Linked DNA regions of Homo sapiens: region 1 is linked to region 2. The links are contacts of gene promoters, found by promoter capture Hi-C in human tissues and cell types (Jung and others, 2019). All regions are on one chromosome and are shown on one strand. The core of a region is centred on a gene start or on the middle of the fragment in contact, and the rest is flanking DNA. Distances in the headings are between cores, read along the strand shown. Region 1 has its middle 5.9 kb from the start of TEKTL1. Region 2 holds the start of OR7C2 (olfactory receptor family 7 subfamily C member 2).

Region 1 (3,225 bases), core at 177-2,676, 63 kb after region 2:
GATCTGCCTACCTCAGCCTCCCAAAGTGCTGGGATTACAGGCATAAGCCACCGTGCCTGGCCTGCCTGAGTCATTTTGAGGGACTGACCAGGGGTACAGCCATAGACACAGGTCCTTGTCACTCACTGACCAGCAAGGTCACTGCCTTTGCAGGAGATGACAGGGAAGAACCAGGAAGCACCTCCTCTCCCAGCCTGGGGCTTCCCACCATCTCCTGACACCTCCACCAGAAAAGCGACCTCATTTCTCAAAGACAAAACAGATTCTAGGTCATATCCCCCTGGAATGAGAGACCAATTGATGTGATTATCTCCAAGAGAAAGAGGGGCACCTACTAAAAGTAGAACCTGGTGTCCCAGAAGGGAAGACATCGGGGAACCTAAAAAGGGGTCTCTGATAATTACCTGCCAAGATTTCACAGCGAAGGGCATCTCCATGTAATGCCAAAAAAAAAAAAAAGAAAGAAAAGAAAAGAAAAAAGGCTAGAAGTTTTAGAAGGTGCTCCTTCTTCATCCATTCTGCAATTTCACTCGATTTCGCCCAAAAGCAGAATTCTGCTCCCTACATTGCATGAATCAGTATATAGAACAGGTGGCCCCAGCAAAGTTGCAAAAAGGAATTTCTATAAAGTGTTCTTTATTATAAAAATCAAGAGAGCTGCCAGGTGTGGTGGTTCATGCCTGTAATCCTAGCACTTTGGGAGGCCAAGCCGGGTGGATTGCCTGAGCTCAGGAGCTCGAGACCAACCTGGGCAACATGGAGAAACCCCATCTCTATTAAAATACAAAAAATTAGCTGGGCGTGGTGGTGGGCCCCTGTAGTCCCAGCTACTCAGCAGGCTGAGGCAGGAGAATTGCTTGAACCCAGGAGGAGGAGGTTGCAGTGAGCCAAGATCACACCACTGCACTCCAGCGTGAGCAACAGAGCAAGACTCTGTCTCTAAAAAAATTAATAATGCATAAATAAAATAAATAAAAATCAGAGAGCTAATTTCACAAAGAAATATAACTCCCTATTGGCCTGAGTTAGAAGTATTTGGGCTTCAGTATATTGGGAGAAGGGAAATATGTATAGTTGTGTATATGCATGCACACATACACACACACACACAGAGGCATGGTGGGGGAATGAATGTGGAAATGGTTAGAGTGAAATCAAGATCAAGTTCAGAATAAGTATCTCTGGATAGTAAAACAAAAAATAAGGCTGGCCATGGTGGCTTGTGGCCATAATCCCAGCACTTTGAGAGGGTGAGGCAGGAGGATGGCTTGAAGCCAGGAGTTCAAGACCCAGACTGGGCAACATAGCAAGACCTCACCTCTACAAAAAAAAAAAAAAGTCAATTGTGATGGCATGCACCTGTAGTTCCAGCTATTCAGGAGGCTGAAGCAAGAGATCTCTTGAGACCAGGAGTTGGAGGCTTTAGTGAGCCAAGATTGTGCCACTTCATTTCAGCCTGGGTGACAGAGTGAGACTCTGTCTCCAGAAAAAAAAAAAAGATTCTTATTCATTTCATTATGTTTCCCATATTTTATACATTTTATACAAGGTGCATACCTTGCTTTCATAGCTTATTTGTTAGTTTAAGAGAGGTATTTAGGCTTGGAGAGTACTGAAAAATTTTCCTAGTCCTCGGTCTTGTGTACATAATGTTTCTGTAGATTTTTTGAACATCACTGTTTCTGTTCAGACACACGCAGGTGAATCACTTGGAAAATGAGAGCTAATCCCAGCCCAGCAATGAATGGTTCCTTCCAGACAGGCCAGGCACAGTTGCTCACATCTGAAACCCCAGAGCTTTGGTAGGCCAAGGCGGGAGGATTGTTTGAGTCCAGGAGTTTGAGACTAGCCTGGGCAACATAGCAAGATCGTGTCTCTACAAAAACATTTTTAAATTAGCCAGGCATGGTAGCACATGCCCATAGGGCCAGCTACCCAGGAGGCTGAGGCAGGAGGATTGTTTAAGCCCAGGAGTTCAAAGTTGCAGTGAGCCATGATGGTACCACTGTACTCTACTCTGGGTGACAAAGCAAGACCCTGTCTCAAAAAAAAAAAAAAAAAAGCAGGGCACGGTGGCGGTCAGGAGTTCACGAATAGCCTGGCCAACAATGGTGAACAAATTGTTCTACTAAAAATACAAAAAATTAGCTGGGCGTGGTGGTGGGCATCTGTAATCCCAGCTACTCAGAAGGCTGAGGCAGGAGAATCACTTGAACCTGGGAGGCGTAGGTTGCAGTGAACCGAGATCGCGCCACTGCACTCCAGCCTGGGCAACAAGAGTGAAACTCCTTCTCACAAAAACAAAAAAACAAAAAAACCAGATAACTCACCTGTTCTTCAAATACATATCAGGCTAGAGAAGTGTCCAAAATGGGTCATCAAAGCCAGGAGCTAGCAGTGAGTTTTTGGAAGTTGATATAGAGAATGGAAACTGGGATTGGGAGATGGAAATGAGAAGTTGGTCTGATTAAGCAATGGTCTGCACCAATTTCAATGCTTAGATAATAGTATCATATACTAGCAGCGTGTTGGTGTCAGCGTGTTAAACTAATAAAAAGCCAGAATGTAACAGCCTGCATAGCCCTAATGCATTTCACCAGAGAGCCATGTGGAAGCCAAAATCCTCACATGCAGATCTGGCATGAGGAAGCTTCCTAAGCGTCTCTCAGGTAGCTTGGTACAAGTTCTGCCCAACAGAGGTGCTTCATACACCAGGCAGCAAGCCTACCCAAATGAGATCCCCTGGTTGGGAAGGTGGACGTACTTCATGAACAAAGCAAAGGTAGATGGTTGTGTGCAGGTCATCTCACATGAGGTGTCTCCCTGGTTCTTTGTGAAACCCTCTCTGGACCTCTTCTGGTTTTGAAATAGCTCATTCATGGATTCATTCTATTAATAAAAGTCAAAAGTAAACACTTACATAATGCTTACTAGGTGTCAGCCATGGTGCTAAGCACTTCATTCATATTAACTCATTGTCTCCATGCCACAATCCTATTACCTGAGTTGACAGATGGGGCAACGCAGGCACAGAGATGTTAAGTGAATTGCTCGAGATCACGTAGACAGCAAGTGGCAGAATCATAATTTGAATCCTAGTTCATCTGGATCCAGAATACAGACCATAATATCCTCCTGATGCTCATGAAAATTTGTTGAACCAGATACCACTGGTCCCAGCAGCAAATGACTGTGCTAACCCCATATTCCCAAGCCTCCATCGCC
Region 2 (3,340 bases), core at 187-2,686:
ATGATTAAAAACAGTGGTTATTATTTTTTAGCAGAAGGGGCATCCAAGATCCAGAGGATTTAACATGTAGACATTACAACTGGGCACAGTGGCTTGCACCTGTAATCCCAGCTACTTGGGAGGCTGAGGCAGGAGGATCACTTGAGCCCAGAAGTTCGAGACTGCAGTGAGCTAGGATGGCGCCACTGCACTCCAGCCTGGGCAACAGAGCCAGACCTTGTCTCTAAAACAAAATGAAAAATAAATTACAGGAATGCAGCACAATAGAAGAAAAAGCCTTCTGAGGATTGACAATCTGCCTAGAATTAGGGAATTCTCATTGCCTGATTTCCTAATCCCCATGCCTTAGGCAGAAAGGGCAAGAGCAGCCACCAGGGATGCTGCGGTGGGAAGGATTGCTTAGGGATACAGGCAAGCGCTGAAGCAATAGTCCTCAAACTTGAGTGTGCATCAGAATTCCCTAGAGGGCTTGTTAAAACCCAGAATGCAGGCCAGGCACGGTGGCTCATGCCTGTAATACCAGCACTTTGGGAGGCTGAGGCGGGCGGATCATCTGAGGTCAGGAGTTTGAGACCAGTCTGGCCAACATGGAGAAACCGTGTCTCTCCTAAAAATACAAAAAAAAAAAAAAATTACCTCAGCGTGGTGGTGCGCGCCTGTAGTGCCAGCTACTCAGGAGGCTGAGGCATGAGAATTGCTTGAACCTGGGAGCCAGAGGTTGCAGTGAGCTGAGATTGCACCACTGCACTCCAGCCTGGGCAACAGGGTGAGACTCTGTCTCAAAAAAAAAAAATTAATTAATTAAAATTAAAAGGCCAGGCGTGGTGGCTCATGCCTGTAATCCCAGCACTTTGGGAGGCCAACGCAGGAGGATCACGAGGTCAGGAGTTCGAGACCAGCCTGACCAACATGGTGAAACCCTGTCTCTACTAAAACTACAAAAATTAGCTGGGCGTGGTGGTACATGCCTGTAATACCAGCTACTCTGGAGGCTGAGGCAGGAGAATCACTTGAACCCGGGAGGCAGAGGTTGCAGTGAGCCAAGACTCTGCCACTGCACTCTAGCCTGGGCGAAAGAGCGAGACTCCATCTCAAACAAAAACTAAACCAGAATGCTGGCTCCATACCCAGAGTATCAGATTCAGTCGGTCAGGTGGGCATGATAAGGCACATGTCTAATGAGTTCCCAGGTGATGCTGATGGGGCTGTTCCAGGAACCACAGTTTAAGGACCAATGATGTAGAGATGACTTCTCCAGGTAGCGATGGTAACTGTAACTTGTCGGCAAAGAAATCCAATAATTAGCCAAAATGCATGATTTCTTGAGTTCCCTGGGTTTGAATAAAGGATATTGCAGTCATTCTGGGGAATGCTTATTTGGAGTAAATTTTGTGTGGCTGTTTTTTTTCCTCCTTCTCGGCAAACCCAGCGGCCCCATGGAAAGAGGAAACCAAACAGAAGTTGGAAACTTTCTCCTCCTGGGATTCGCAGAGGACTCTGACATGCAGCTTCTCCTCCATGGGCTGTTCCTCTCCATGTACCTGGTTACCATCATCGGAAACCTGCTCATCATCCTGACCATCAGTTCAGACTCCCACCTCCACACCCCCATGTACTTCTTCCTCTCCAACCTGTCCTTTGCTGACATCTGTTTCACATCCACGACTGTCCCAAAGATGCTGGTGAATATCCAAACACAAAGCAAAATGATCACTTTTGCAGGCTGCCTCACTCAGATATTTTTTTTCATTGCATTTGGATGCCTGGACAATTTGCTCCTGACCATGACGGCCTATGACCGCTTCGTGGCCATCTGTTACCCCCTGCACTACACGGTCATCATGAACCCCCGGCTCTGTGGACTGCTGGTTCTGGGGTCCTGGTGCATCAGTGTCATGGGTTCCTTGCTTGAGACCTTGACCATTTTGAGGCTGTCCTTCTGCACAAATATGGAAATTCCGCACTTTTTTTGTGATCCTTCCGAAGTCCTGAAGCTGGCCTGTTCTGACACCTTCATCAATAACATCGTGATGTATTTTGTGACCATTGTCCTGGGTGTTTTTCCTCTCTGTGGAATCCTATTCTCTTATTCTCAGATTTTCTCCTCCGTCCTAAGAGTATCTGCCAGAGGCCAGCACAAAGCCTTTTCCACCTGTGGTTCCCACCTCTCAGTGGTCAGCTTGTTCTATGGCACTGGCCTTGGGGTCTATCTCAGTTCTGCAGTTACACCACCTTCTAGGACAAGTCTGGCAGCCTCGGTGATGTACACCATGGTCACCCCCATGCTGAACCCCTTCATCTACAGCCTGAGGAACAAGGACATGAAGGGGTCACTGGGGAGACTCCTCCTCAGGGCAACGTCTCTCAAAGAGGGGACCATTGCTAAGCTCTCATGAATTGCAGTGAACACAATACTGAGGCCAGACTGGCCTCTTTCAGCCAATATTTCAACTTCTGTTTTTATGCATTTTTTTGAGACGGAGTCTTGCTCTGTCGCCCAGGCTGGAGTGCAATGGCGTGATCTCGGCTCACTGCAACCTCCGCCTCCCAGGTTCAAGCAATTCTCCTGCCTCAGCCTCCTTAGCAGCTGGGATTACAGGCATGCGCCCCAATTCCCGGCCAATTGTTTTTATTTTTAGTAGAGATGGGGTGTCACCATGTTAGTCAGGCTGGTCTCGAACTCCTGACCTCATGATCCACCTGCCTCGGCCTCCCAAAGTGCTGGGATTACAGGCATGAGCCACCGTGCCCAGCCACTTCTTTTTTTTTTTTTCAAGAAGGAGTCTCACTCTGTCACCCAGGCTGCAGTGCAATGGTGCGATCTCGGCTCACTGCAACTGCCGCCTCCCGGGTTCAAGTGGTTCTCCTGCCTCAGCCTCCTGAGTAGCTGGGATTACAGGCACCCGCCACCATGCCCAGCTAGTTTTTGTATTTTTAGTAGAGATGGGGTTTTGCCATGTTAGTCAGGCTGGTCTGGAACTCCTGACCTCAGGTAATCTGCCCGCCTTGGCCTCCCAAAGTGCTGGGATTACAGGCAATGAGCCACCGCACCCTGCCTTCTTTTATACATATTAAAGCATCTCTTCCCTTGCATCTTCCTTTGGAACGTTTCCTGCCCTTGCTACTGCTAATAAAGTTATATAGGATCACCCTTTTTGACTTTCTAACCAGTAATCTTAACTTTGTATGAATACAACCTGGTGTTTTCTCTGTTATCTTTAGTAATGATTTGGATTTTGTTTTTTGTTTTTGTTTTTTGTTTTGTTTTTTGTTTTTGTTTGTGTTTTTGAGACAGTCTCCCTCTGTCGCCCTGGCTGGAGTGCAGTGGCGCCATCTCAGC

What was found. Contacts are between HindIII fragments. The study calls those that stand out against the background at their distance.
Region 1: a fragment that was not itself captured here is called in contact with the fragment with the promoter of OR7C2 in region 2 in 1 of the 25 tissues and cell types used here (stomach).

The regions. Positions count from the first base shown.
Region 1 is chr19:15,003,216-15,006,440 of GRCh38, forward strand. It overlaps a transcript of SLC1A6 not described here. Among named protein-coding and RNA genes, the nearest start is that of TEKTL1, 5.9 kb to the right of the region's middle. The HindIII fragment of the contact is 9,530 bases long and covers 1-3,225 here.
Region 2 is chr19:14,940,053-14,943,392 of GRCh38, forward strand. It overlaps OR7C2 (olfactory receptor family 7 subfamily C member 2), which reads left to right and starts at 1,437. Exons shown (of 1, transcript NM_012377.1): 1 at 1,437-2,396. The coding sequence starts at 1,437. The coding sequence ends at 2,396. The HindIII fragment of the contact is 18,036 bases long and covers 1-3,340 here.